2 separate regions of the Homo sapiens genome follow, and region 2 is linked to region 1. The links are contacts of gene promoters, found by promoter capture Hi-C in blood cells and fetal thymus (Javierre and others, 2016). All regions are on one chromosome and are shown on one strand. The core of a region is centred on a gene start or on the middle of the fragment in contact, and the rest is flanking DNA. Distances in the headings are between cores, read along the strand shown. Region 1 holds the start of PROZ (protein Z, vitamin K dependent plasma glycoprotein). Region 2 holds the start of MCF2L (MCF.2 cell line derived transforming sequence like).

What was found. Contacts are between HindIII fragments. The CHiCAGO score rates a contact against its expected background, and 5 or more counts as called.
Region 2: a fragment that was not itself captured here is called in contact with the fragment with the promoter of PROZ in region 1 in 2 of 17 cell types (total CD8 T cells and naive CD8 T cells); the score reaches 6.2 in total CD8 T cells.

Annotation. Positions count from the first base shown.
Region 1 is chr13:113,155,373-113,162,189 of GRCh38, forward strand. PROZ (protein Z, vitamin K dependent plasma glycoprotein) reads left to right here and starts at 3,276. Exons shown (of 8, transcript NM_003891.3): 1 at 3,276-3,358; 2 at 4,642-4,805; 3 at 5,576-5,600. The coding sequence starts at 3,289. It overlaps LOC124903216 (a long non-coding RNA gene), which reads left to right. Exons shown (of 4, transcript XR_007063880.1): 3 at 445-508; 4 at 1,158-1,238. RefSeq lists enhancers at 2,759-3,336, 3,913-4,490. The HindIII fragment of the contact is 2,151 bases long and covers 2,737-4,887 here.
Region 2 is chr13:112,969,025-112,975,841 of GRCh38, forward strand. MCF2L (MCF.2 cell line derived transforming sequence like) reads left to right here and starts at 190. Exons shown (of 30, transcript NM_001112732.3): 1 at 190-434. The coding sequence starts at 356. RefSeq lists a silencer at 66-125. The HindIII fragment of the contact is 516 bases long and covers 993-1,508 here.

The DNA.
Region 1 (6,817 bases), core at 2,026-4,525:
CCCAAAACTCACACAAAAAAATGTATTTAAAGGGATTGCAAAGTGGCAGTGCCCCCAGGGGGCAACATAAAGCACAACCCCTTTCAGGAAGAACTCGGCCTTGTCCAGGCTGACATTAGAACATTGGCTGTAGGGAACAGGCCAATTCAGAGATGTTGAAATCTAAAACATAGGTCCCAGAGTTGATTGAACAGGTATTTAAATAGGGACTGCGGCAAGATCTAAGTATTCAATGACCAGGTTCTCCATAGGCTGCTCATTTCAGGTTCCACACAAAGTTGTGGGGTCAGTTGATTTAAGCTGGGGACCCCCACAGAGGACACCCCAACATCTGAAGGACACGACAAAGACCCCAAAGGAAGGAAGATTCTCCTCAGGTATACAGAAGGAAAGTAAACCAGTCAATGGAAAAAGTGTCCCAATGTTGGTTGGTTTGTTTTTCAGAACAGAAGAGGGTGACAGAAGAACGATTATTCATATGAGAGATGAGGAAGATGAGTAGAACGAGGTGAATCTTAATGTTTGGACAATTTATTATTGTAGAATTTTTGGTCCAAAGGTGGTATCTTTGAGAAGGCAGATGAGAAAATTAAATCACCACATACAACACGGTCAGTCCACGTACAACACAGTCAATCACAGCTGTGGCCTCGATGTTGATGCCTTCCTGTATTAGTCTGTTCTCATGTCACTGTGAAGAAATACTTGAGACTAGGTAATTTATAAAGAAAAGCGGTTTAATGAACTCACAGTTCCACATGGCTGGGGAGGCCTCAGGAAACATAATCATGGCAAGCAGGCACCTCTTCACAGGGTGGCAGGAGAGAGAAAATGTGTGTCAATCACAGGGGGAAGCCCCTTATAAAATCATTAGCTCTTGTGAGAATGCACTCACTATCACAAGAACCACCTCCATGATTCAATCACCTCCACCTGGTCCTGCCCTTGACCTGTGGGGATTATTACAATTCAAGGTGAGATTTGGTTGGGGACACAGAGCCAAACCATCCCCCAAAACTCACGTTGAAACCTAACCCCCTGTGCAATAGTACTAGGAGGTGGGGCCTCTGGGAGGCACTCTGCCTTCATGGATGGATGACTGCCCTCCCAAAAGAGGCTCCAGGGAGCACCCACATTCCTCCCTTCCACCATCCAAGGACACGTCTATGAATCATGGGCCGTCACCAGACACTGAGTCTACTGGAGCCTTGATCTTGGACTTCCCATCCTCCAGAACTGTGAGCACTACGTTTCTGTTTATCGTAAATTACCCACTCTAAGGTGTTTTGTTACAGCAGCCCCAACAGACTAAAATGGTCCATGAGGGAAGAGGTTGTAGCTCAGATACCCATGTCAGGCATATAGGATGTGCTTAATTAACACTTATTGATCGAATGTGTATGTCCCTGTCTGCCTTTCCATTTTTAGGCAGCTATTGATGGTTTTTAAACTATCCAGCAGAAGTATTTTTAATGTAAATTTCCATGTGGGAATACATTTTCACACAAAAAAAGGCACCTTTTCTTAAGTGAAGGCCACGTAGATTGCCAGGCTGGTGCAATTCACCCAAGAGCTATCCTATACAATCAACTTCTGGCTTTCAAATTATTTTAACTCACTCACTAAAGATAAACTTTATTTTCTTTTCCCAGCTTTTTAAAGCAAACTTCACAACTTCAGTGTATTTGCGGGCATGCCCTCTTAATCAAGGGTGTCAGCTTCTTAGTTTTCTTCTGTTCCCACTTTAACAAAATTGTATTTAGAATCCTTTCATTGAGTTTTGCCACCTTTGAGTGTCATTCAATCGAACAATATCTATATGCTGACAATGCTGTCATTTCATCTGTTACCACCTGAATCTCCACTGTGAGTCCCAGCTTCTCGGATGCCCACTCCTGTCTCCACCTGGACATCCCACAGACACCTCAAATTTGCCAAACCTCGCTTCCCTCTGCCCTCCTGGAGCTTGGCCGTCTCAGCACACGCACTGCCATCCTCCCAATCGCTCAGCCCAAACCTTGGAGCCGTGCTGCCCGACACAATTCATCATGAATCCCATCAGCTTTCCCTTCCTGAAGCATCCAGACTGCAAACGTGCTTCCTGCTGCATGGCTGCACCCTCACCCCCTCCTGGACTAGCCGGCAGCCTCCCTTTTGACTTCTCTGGAATGTTCTGTTCTCCACACAGCAGCCCAGTGATCCCTTCAGAGCACAAATCTTTCCATGTCAATTCCTGTTCCCTCCAATATCTTCCCAACACAGTGAAAATGAAACACCAGGTTCTTACCTCAGGCTTCAAGGGCTGATATGGTTTGGCTGTGTCCCCACCGAAATCTTATCTTGAATTGTAATCCCCATAGTCCCCACGTGTCCTGGGAGGGACCCGGTGGGAGGTAATTGAATCATGGGGGTGGTTTCCACCATGCTATTCTTGGGATAGTGAGTGAGTCTCAAGAGATTTGATGGTTTTATAAGGATCTGGCATTTCCCCTGCTTCAGTCATTCTCTCTGCTGCCACCCTGTGAAGAGGTGCCTTCTGCCATAATTATAAGTTTCCTGAGGCCTCCCCAGCCATGTGGAACTGGGAGTCAACTAAACCTCTTTTCTTAAATTACCCAGTCTTGGCTATTTCTTCATAACAGTGTAAGAAGGGACTAATACACAGGGCCTACATCTGAAAGCAGCAAACGACAACCCTGGGGCCAAATCTGGCCCCTTAATAGCTCTTATAAATAAAGCTTTATTGGCACACAGCCAAGTGTTCATTCATGATTGTCTATGCTGCCTCTGCTACAATGGTGCTGAGCTGTAGTGACAGACACTATTTGGCCCTTCCCCGCTTTCTCCCTCCTCCCTCCCTCCCTTCCTTTTCTCCCCTTCCTTCTTTCCATCCTCCTGCTTTCCCTCCCTCACTCCCTCCTGTCTCTTTCCCTCGTTCTTTTCTGTGTATTCCACACACACCTAGAACGTAAGCTGCATGTGACTTTGTCTGTCCCGCCCAGTGCTGTGTCCCCAGGGCCTATCTCACCTCCATTGACCACACACGGGCATGGGTGCCACCTTCCACCTTGCACCTGCTGCCTTTACCTTCTGTTCTCTGTCTCCCTAAATATCTCCCAGGGTCCTCTGAGCCTTCACCGTTCATTTCTCTGCCTGGCCTCAAACAGAAAACGTCAGGAGGGAAGCACACAGCTGCACAGGTCGTGCCCCGAGGCTCCTGCTGCCGGCACCTCCCCCAGCCTGGACTTTGGCTGTGTTTGTAGCCCTGTCCCAGCGCTCCGGGTGGGAATGGCAGGCTGCGTCCCACTGCTCCAGGGCCTGGTCCTGGTCCTCGCCCTCCATCGTGTGGAGCCCTCAGGTAGGCATCTGGCTTACCTGTCTGTTGTGCCTGTGCTGTGTCTTTCTTGACTCGGTCCATGGTGGATTTGTAGATGAGGCTTTTTCCAGGAGCCAGAGGAGCCCTGAGTGCCCAGACTAGTCTTAATTCCCCTGAAAAAGCTGTTTGGATCTTTATCATTTGGTGACAAGTATTTGGGACATGATAGTGTCACTTGGGGTCCTCCCAAGAGATGCCCAAATGGAAAGAAGCCTGTGTGCAGGGGATTCAGCCGGGAAAGGCCGGGGAGAGGGGAGGGGGAAAGGGGGAGGAGTGGGGGGAGGCCTGGGTTGGGCATTGGACGAGGGGAGGGGGTGGGGCAGGCTGAGCCCAGACTGCAATGTGGGCAGAGAGAGCCTTGGCCAGGCCAGCCAGGAATGCCCAGTCTTGAGTCAGGAGACATAGCCAGGGAGCAGCCACCCTGCCTGCCTGCCACCCTTCTACCACCAGCCACTTCACTGAAGGAACGACATGGACTCCATTCTGACTCTGCCTGCACAGGCGTCCAGGAAAGCTGCAAGTCAAAACACCCAGCATCCCCGCTGGCCCCATGGTCTCCCGCTGGCCCCATGGTCTCCCACCCTGAGAGGGTGATCCCCCCGCCCTGCCCTGCCCAGCACTTACCGTAGCCGGACTTAGCTGAGCCCCCCCTGCTGTAACCCTCAGCACCGAGAGAAAAGGAGGGAGGATGGGAAGGGCCTGGGCTTTGACCCTCCCGGAGAGGGAGAGAACATGCTTTGGGACCCTCAGGTGGGAAGAGGCTCCAGAGACCACTGCCGCGGGTCAACTCATTTGCCTTCTCCTCCTGGAAATCGCAGAGCCTGCTGCAATGTATAAGTTTCTTCTTTATGTGTTTTATCAAGATGTTAAATGCTGCGCACAGAGGCAGCACAGGAGCTGATGGCTCTTGGTCCCCAGTTCTCAGTACGGGGACCTTTGACCCCAGCTCAGCCTTCCTTCGCACTCAGACCCAAAACCCAGTTGGAGCCCTCCCTCCTCCACTTTCCTGACTGAGGCCCGTGGCCTCTCTGCAGAACCTTAGTGTATCCGCACTGATCCTGGGGCTGATCCATTCGCCCAGAGGATGAAGTGCTTGCCTACCTCGGGGGAGGGAGTAGCGGGGTGGCCCTGAGGCCCTCGCAGGCTGAGAGCCTGTGGAGACGGACGGGGCTGGGGCTGGCGGCCGGCCGGGGAGGAAGCCAGGCAGCTCTGGAAAGCAGGGCCCTCGGTGCTCCCAGTCACCTGCCTTCTTGTCTCGTCTGTAGTATTTCTCCCGGCCTCCAAAGCAAACGACGTTCTGGTGAGGTGGAAGCGTGCGGGCTCCTATCTTCTGGAAGAACTCTTCGAGGGAAACTTGGAAAAAGAATGTTATGAAGAAATCTGTGTCTATGAAGAAGCAAGAGAAGTGTTTGAAAATGAAGTAGTCACTGTATGTACCCCCACCACAAACCACAGGCCTCCTCATTATTTAGACTTCTGCTGGCCCAGGGAGCATCATTTCTCAGAGATTAAGCTTAATTAATTAGCCTATTTACTTACCGATGAGGTTGACACAATCCCAGTTTTACAGATGAGGAAACAATTTAGAGAATCGACTTAATCCACCTTTCCCTACAGCAGTGAGTGGGGCTGGAAGTCAGCTCAGAGCCCACTGGACTCATTTCTTCAGGTCAGGCAAGGCCCACACACTGATCAGACACCCAGCATACATTTTCTTTCTAGGCTTCAAGTCTGAATAATTCTCCTAATTTTAGATACTCCTACCCCAAACTAAGTGTCCCCACTCCCTACAGAGGTATATATCTTTAAAATTCAACTCGGTTTATAAAAAGCGAAAAGGTGATGTGACTTCTATATCATGTGCTTTTGTGGAGGGTGGCGTGGAGATTGGCCCTAGAAGGGAAGGGCCACGTTAGGGGCTGTGGGTGGTGGGTTTGTGCCATGTCATAGACTCTGGCCTTCCTCAAATAGGTGGTGGTAAGCACATGTTGAGTAATATATCTTACAGATACATTTAGTTACTATACATTTAACATAAACAAATAGGCTGTAAAACAGGAAAATTGTGCATTGTTTCAACCACTATTGTCCTATTAAGTGAATAAAATCAACATTTTCTTACCTTCAAGTTCATCTACAGGAAAGAATATAGAAAAACAAATATCCCATTTGTAACATTTTTATGTTTTAACTCTAAAGGATGAATTCTGGAGACGATATAAGGGTAAGTGGTTTCCTTCGTCTCCTCAGAAGTATTAATTCCTCGGGATGAGGTGCGTGGGTGGGCTTAGGACGCTTCACGACCCCAGCTCAGCGGATGCCAAGCCTCTGGCTCCAGGACCCACGGTGTCTCTCCAGGGAAGGGCAGCTCCGACTCTCCCCAAGGACCAGGTCAGGAAGCCCCCGGGCTCTGCCACCAGGGCCACAGGCAGTGCCTGGTTTGTCTTGCCCAGTGTCTGGGTAGTTTCTTGGCACTCTGGGACATGGGCCACAGGCCAGGAGGGCCCCCCCAGAGCAGCTCCTCCAGCCGCCTGGCTCCTGGGCTCCTGGGAAGCCTCATGCTGCAGCAGGGTCAGAACTCGTCTCAAATTTTGGAAAGTCATGGCCCCGATGGAGACTTTGGTTAGGAGACTCCTCCCAAGGGAGGAGCTCTAGGTGGGCAACTGCAGAAGAGCATGGGACAGAAGTAACACAGATGGAGACCCACGGGGCTGGGGGAGGCCAGGGTAAGGACCCACCTGGGAATGAGTAAGCAAAGAGCTGCAGCCACCACCAGACAAGCACGGGGACAACTGGGCACAGAAGGAAGCGGGAGAGGCAGGGAAGGCCGGAGAAGGGCTGATGGGGCGGGACAGAGGGGACCGCGTGCGGACGAAGAAAGGGCACCCAGCAGAGTGGGAGGCACTGGCAGCCAGGCCTTACATCCGGAGCGGGGAGCGTCCTGGGGGCCAGGCGATGGCATGGGGAGCAGCATGAGCAGGCTCAGTCCCCATTCCTGCCACCCCCTGCCCCCCCGTCCTCCTCCTGCTCAGGTCCCCGTCCCTGCCACCTCCTCACATCCTCCTCCTGCTCAGGTCCCCGTCCCTGCCACGTCCCCCCATCCTCCTCCTGCTCAGGTCCCCGTCCCTGCCACGTCCCCACATCCTCCTCCTGCTCAGGTCCCCGTCCCTGCCACCTCCCCCCATCCTCCTCCTGCTCAGGTCCCCGTCCCTGCCACCTCCCCACATCCTCCTCCTGCTCAGGTCCTCGTCCCTGCCACCTCCTCACATCCTCCTCCTGCTCAGGTCCCCGTCCCTGCCACGTCCCCACATCCTCCTCCTGCTCAGGTCCTCGTCCCTGCCACCTCCCCCCATCCTCCTCCTGCTCAGGTCCCCGTCCCTGCCACGTCCCCACATCCTCCTCCTGCTCAGGTCCCCGTCCCTGCCACGTCCCCACATCCTC
Region 2 (6,817 bases), core at 1-2,500, 190 kb before region 1:
GTGAGCCCCGGGGCTCCCCGACGACCGCGGCGGTGACACGCGGGGCTCCCAGGTGACCCCGGCGGTGCACTCACAGGACTCCCAGGTGACCCGCGGTGGTGACACACCGGGGCGGGCGCGCGCCGCTTCCGCTTCCGCCGAGCCGCCCCCCGCCCCCCGCGGCGCAGCGCGCGCCCCCCTCCCGGTGGCGCGGAACCAATCCTGGGCAGGGAGGCGGCGGCTGGAGGCTGAAAGCGCTGCCGTGGCCCCCTCCCCGCCTCCGCCGCGCCCCCTCCGCACTCGCACGGCCCCACCCGCAGGCGCCCCCCGTGCGGAGGAAGCGGATCTGCCAGGATCATTTTTGTTGTGTCGGAGGATGAGGTTTTGGCTGAGGACTGAAGAGATGGCCTTGGAAGAAATGGTGCAGAGATTAAATGCGGTTTCCAAGCACACGGGTAGGAGGAGCTGCTGGCCGTCAGTGATCTGTGCTTAAGCTTGACATCATGGGCTGAAATGTGGGGAAATGCGTCTGATTTTTGTAAGCCGCCCTCGTGTTCCTTTCTAGCCGTGGTAGCTGTGACATGGGGGGCACTGGTTGGCAGCTGGTGTGTTTTCAGAGGCTGTCGGCGATCGTATGCTGCCCGGGATAGTCAAAATGACTGCACGTTGGTGACACTGGCTCTCTCAGGGTTGCTGGGTCTGCATGCGGAGCCATTTGTGTGTCTGAAGTCTGCCCATCAACCTGCCTGTCCGCAGCCCTCGCAATGGAGAATGCATTGCGAATGGAGAATGATCTGAGCCAAGGGCTTTCAGAGCTTGGGGTTTCAGAGCCAGGGGTAGGGATGGTGAAGCTACCTGGAAGCTCGTTTTGAGGATGAAAAAACCTGGACTAATCAGGTGGTTCTTTTCTTCATTAAATGCAATTTAAACCTAAGACAGATGTTTGAGACGGTATGGGTAAAGAGTGGACTGGACGTTCATTTTCAGTATTAATCGAAATATTACTTCAAATAAGCTTTGAAGAGTAGTTCAGATCGATTCTTTTAGGTGTAAGCAGAGACTGGGCTGACAGCTTGCATCTGGCCGTGGCTTTCAGGCGGTCGCATCTGAGTTCTCAGGCTGTGTTATGCAGAAGGGAGAGGCATCCTTAACTCGTTTTCCTTGAAATGAAGAGGAAATAATGATATATCATTAAAAGTAAGTTGCCAAGTGTTTTGCCTGATGTTGCCATATGTTATGTCATATATGCCATTACTAGTTGTCTAACTAGTACTTGCCTGGGAGATTAAAATGTCAGTTGCTTGGTTTGGGTGTGGTTCTCTTTCTCTGCCCACCCCGATGGATTCTGAGAGTGAACCAGTGATTAAATCAGCATAAGCACCATCGTATGGGATGGTCTAATCAAGATGTTTTTAATGGGGGCTTTTATGATCAAAGCTGCTGGGTTTATTGTATGTGGGTCGAAAGAAAACAAAACCATTTTCATGCCGTCTGCTCCCTGATTCTTAGAGAATCAGCTCTTTTTCTGAAGCTTGAGTGGAGCTTTTCCGTGCAGGGTTTGCAGGGTTTGAGTATGGTGAAGGGCTGCGTGGATGCCAGGTTCACAGGGAGGCTTCCGATCGGCTGTGGGGGTGGAGGAGAAAGCCCCCCTTGCTCTGCATGCCTCTGCGTGCCGTTCGGTGTCAGAGTCACAGAGTGGGAACCGCTCCAGAGGCTGATGTCATTCCCCAGGTTTTTAGGGATTGGGGTTTCTTCATGAGCTCCAAGAGACATGTGCGCATTTTTAATTGGAAAAAGGCTATCTCAGAAGAGCAGCAGTGACACTGTCTGCTCACTGAATGTCGTGCGAGCCGGGCGCTCGGTGTGGGCCATCGTCTCATCTGGAACAGGCAGTGAGATGTGCGTCCTCCCACACATCTGCATTACCGATAATTGCATGCTTCACCAGGACTTTCAAGTCCAGCTTACCAGATATCCTCGGTTATGAGCACCCTGTAGCGTTTAGTTAGGGGAGGTGACCCTGCATCATACTCCACTTACCACCCATTAACACTGGCCTCTTCCTTCAGCACAAACCCATTTTCTGCTCACGCTGTGTGAGGTACTGCTCAGCGGAGGCAAGTTATTAGGTTGAAGGCTGTAAAACCATCATGAGGGGGTTTATGATGCAGTATTGACATGATGCTACCACAGAGTGTACGGGTATGTGGTGCACATTCTCTGGTAGGGGTGAAGGTCAAGGTAAACCTGATCCCCACCTCGGGTTTAAATTCCAAGCACTTCCTCAGGAGAGTTCCCCACCTGCAGCCAAACACTCTTCAGCGGGAGGTCATGGAGCTGCTTCTCCTTCTGGGGTCATGCTAGGATCCGTGCCAGGTAAAAGCTGATGGCAACAGGACACTGATGTGGCGGCTGGTGTAGGTCCTCAGGGCAGTGGCGGGGCTAGGTCACAGCTGAGGGATTGCGTACAGCGGCTGGCCTTAGAGCAGCTGCCTCATTCAGCTGTGCAGAGCTTCACCCTCTGTAGATTCACCCCCAACCCACAGGCATTTTATCTTTGCTGCTGTCCAGGACATGCTGCTGTGTTTTAATTTCAGATTTATGCATTTCTTCTGTCACCTAGAACCTTCATTAGCTAGGCTAATCTGCATGTAAAGGAGGATAATGTGTGCTGTCCATATGGTCTGTGAATCTGTAGCCTTTGACCTTGAGAATTGACATTTTATATACTTTTCTGAACCTGATCTTCAGTAACAAGGCCAGGGGCACTTTCCAGTGGCAACTTCCCCCTGGCCCCCCTTCTATGTGATAGGGCTCATTTTCGTCTGTTTTGGTTTTCTCTTTGGAATTTTAGTCATTGGTGAAAAGGTAGAAGACATTCGAGGGAGCAATGCTATGGATCTAGTTGATTTAAGCATTCGATGAAACAGAACAGTGGTCCTCCAACTACAGCATGTACATGCGTCACCTTGGGGGCTTGTTAAAGCACAGGCTGCTGGGCCCACCCTCAGAGTTTCTGATTCAGGAAGTCTGGGGTAGGGTCTGATAATTGACATTTCTTAAGTTCTTGATGAAGTTCTTCAGGAATCAAACTTGGGGAACTACTGTGGTAGAAGAATCTTTAAATCTAGCCCCACCTTTTCCATTAGTTGACCTAATACTAACTCTTGTCATAGACAGATGATGATAGATGGATAATGCATGGATAAATGAGTGGATGGATGGATGAATGGGTAGATGGGTGGGTGGGTGGATGGATGGGTGGGTGGATGAATGTAGGGGTGGATGAATGGATGTGTGGGTGGGTGGATGGATGGATGGATGGATGATGATGGATGGATGGATGTGTAAGTGGGTGGATGGATGGATGGATGGATGGATGGATGGATAAATGAGTTAGTAGATAGTGGATAAGTGGGTGGATGGATGGGTGGGTGGATGAATGTAAGGGTGGATGAGTGGGTGTGTGGGTGGATGGATGGATGGATGATGATGGATGGATGGATGTGTGAGTGGATGGATGGATGTGTGGGTGGATGGATGGATAAATAGATAAATGGAGGATGATGAATGGGTAGATGGATGGATGAGTGGATGCTTGGACGGATGAGTGGATGGATGGATGGATGAATGAGTTGGTAGATAGATGGATGAGTGGATATATGTATGTAAGGTAGATGGAGGGGTAGGTGGATGGGTGTATGGATGGATGGATGACTGGATGACTGGATAGATGAATGGGTGGGTGGATGGATGGAGGGAGGGAGGGATGGATGCATAGATGAGTGGATGCATGGAGTGGAGGAGTGGATGGATGGATGGAAGGTGGATGGATGGATGAATGGATGGATGGATGGATGAGCAAAAGCTGTGTGCTGCCTCCTGTCCTTAAGCTCTTCCTGGGAAGGGCCTGTGGCCTGAGCAATGGGCTGAGGGACACAGCAGCACGGAGGGGCTTTGGGGGATGAGGGGGCTTCCCAGGACCACCACACAGGCACAGCTGTTCGGCACCCCCCAGTTGCAGGTCTCAGAGGAAAAGCTCTGGGGGGACGCGCCCAGGAGGCAGGGGCACGCATTTCTGTGTGGAATTGAAGAGCTCTCAGTGGAGTAGGTGCGGCTCCCTGGCAAAATGCCACCTGCTTATTAGCCAGCCCAGCGGTTTCTGACGGACGCCTTAGCACTCCCCTCTCACGCCTCTGCCTTCGGCCTCAGTGATTGGCGTCTCCTCAAGGAGCCATGATTTCTTTGTCCATTTTTTAAATGTGCTGAGGCCCTTTAGGAGAAAAACCACGCAGCCAAATGAGGTACGTCTGTGTGGGTTGCTGACTATTTTGTAACATGAAATTTAGGTCTCTAATTAGATAGGTGTGACTATAAAGTACAGAAACATTTAAAAAACAATTAGCTTTCATGGGATGTTGTTATGGATCTTGTTAGTAGGGATTCCGGAGCAGGTTTTAGAGATTTGAGCGGAGGGAGGCTTGTGAGGAAACCGTGAGTCCTCTGAGCATCCTTGGTGTCCTGTGTTGCTGACCTTCTGTGATCTGACGCCACGGCTCAGTGCTTCCCAAGAGCTCCTGAGAACGCAGCGCTCAGGCCTCCCAGCTGGGTGAGTCTGACGCCCTCCATGCGAAGACGGCGCGAGCACGGCTTCACCTGTGGAACCAGGGGCAGACTTATGAGCTCCCGGGGGTTTCAGTTCCGGCCTGCTCTGAGGACACTGGGGGGCCGGCCCTGTGTTTGCTTGGAGCGCCCTTCAGGGAGACCCGTGGCTCCAGGGGCTGGCGCTGAGTGACCACAGGCAAGGTCTCAGGAGTGAGTGATGCCAGGCAGCACCTGAGAAGGGGATGCCTGCGAGGTGTGTTCCGAGTTTCATGGGGACTTGTGTTGGCCACCGCCTCCTGAGTCACTGGCCCCTTTTCACGCTGCACCTGTGCCTTGGGATGGTGGCCGCCTTCCAGCGTCTTCCTGATCTCCGTCTTCAAAGCCGCTCCTGACTCTTCCACTGCCCCCTCTGACCCCATCCCCCACTGTTTCATCAGCTCCCATCCTGGCGCTTCCTCACCTGGTGCCTCATTGCCCGGCACTTCCTTATCTGGCATTTCATCACCTGCCGCTCCACATCACCTGCTGGCTTCCTCCTCCTTTAGTCTTACGTTTGGAGTTCCCTGCATTTGGCTTCCCTAAGGGTAAGACCACCTTCTATAGTGGTGCAAACTCCCCCTCAGAACTAGGGGCACCAGTTCCGCAAAGGCACCCGGGCATGGCTAACCTCTGAGTCTGCAAAGCCCCTTGCGTGGCTGACTTCCAGGTCTGCAAGGGCCCCCGGCGTGGCCAACCTCTGAGTCTGCAAAGCCCCTGGCATGGCCAGCCTCTGAGTCCATGAAGCCCCCGGCGTGGCCAACCTCATTGGATGAGTTTGCTTGGACTTTTGCACCCCTGGCATGCTGCTGTTCTGCTGCTTTTCATAAGCCTGGCCCCTTGGGTGTGGAAAGTGCATGGATTTTAGGGGTTCCACTCATTTTGCAGACGTTCTGGGGAAAATCACATTTGTTGATCATCAATACCAGCTGAATACCAGAGGGTGCACTCCAGAATTAGACCTTCAGGGACTAGTAAATATGAGAGATACTGGAGGATGAACTCCAGAATTAGAACTTTAGGGACTAGTAAATATGAGAGAAGCTGGCTCGGGAGACCTGCTTTCGCCATAATAAAAAACAAGGCATAAGCATCACAATCAGAAGTTCTCCAGGCTTCAGCTGCTCATGAAAGGCATGCTATGTCTGACAAACACATTTTCATGAGTAGAGAATAATTTTAACAGACTCTAGGGTCTACTGACTCATAATTTAACCAAATACAGTTTCTGGAGCCAAGCTGGTTCTGCAGCCTAATTATGGAAAGCTCGGCTGCCTTTTCCGTGTGTTTCGTTTCCTCCGCCGCCTACGACGTGCAGGCAGCACTCTCAACATAGCCCCTTCTTTCACCAGAACTATCGTTTCCACGTCAGCTCACGTCACCATCCGTAGAGTTGGAAGGATACCACTGTAAGTAGTATTTTCACACTTCTACCCTTCGGATTAACTCAGAAGGTATCTGGTCACATTCATTTTATAACTCTGGGTGTGGAGAAAGAAGCATCTGTTACGCCTTTTGGAATGTTTACAAGCTAACTGCCCTTGTCTGATACACACACAAAAATGGAGCTGCCTACATTGGAATTCTAGCGAAGTACTGAAGTTAGAATGTCTAATGTCTGGTGGTCATATGTGGATAAGATGTGGGATGAGGTTTGCACCTTGTGAGGTTAGCGGGGCCCCTATGAAGGGTTGCATTGACTATTAGGTTAAAATCACTGGTGCTGGACCCGTGACCTGTGAGGTCAAACCCCAGCTCTGCCATCTGTGGCTGTGTGGTGCCTCGGTTTCCCCATCTGCAGAATGGACTCAGGAGAGCACCTACCTGCTAGGGTTGATGTGACAATCAAATGAGTTAAATCTGCATGAAAAGCACTGAGAAGCACCCAGCAGGCAGGAAGCTGTGGGGACCCGTTTGCTGTTAGGGTCACTTGTGCACATGGTCAGTGCCGGCGGGTACCCGCCATGAGCACCTGTGCACAGCAGGGAGCCGCTGCCGTGGTCATCCTCAGGGAGCCGCTGCCGTGGTCATCCTCACATACAGTTAGGTGTGTGACCGCACTGACGATCCCAGTAATGAAGTATGTGGGGATTTTCCAGGTAAATGAGAAGGAAAAGGAAGGTTCTGAGAGGAAGGGTCTGTGGTTGACCTCGTTGCGGTCGCACGGTGATAGAGGTGACATCCGTGGTCACTGTTC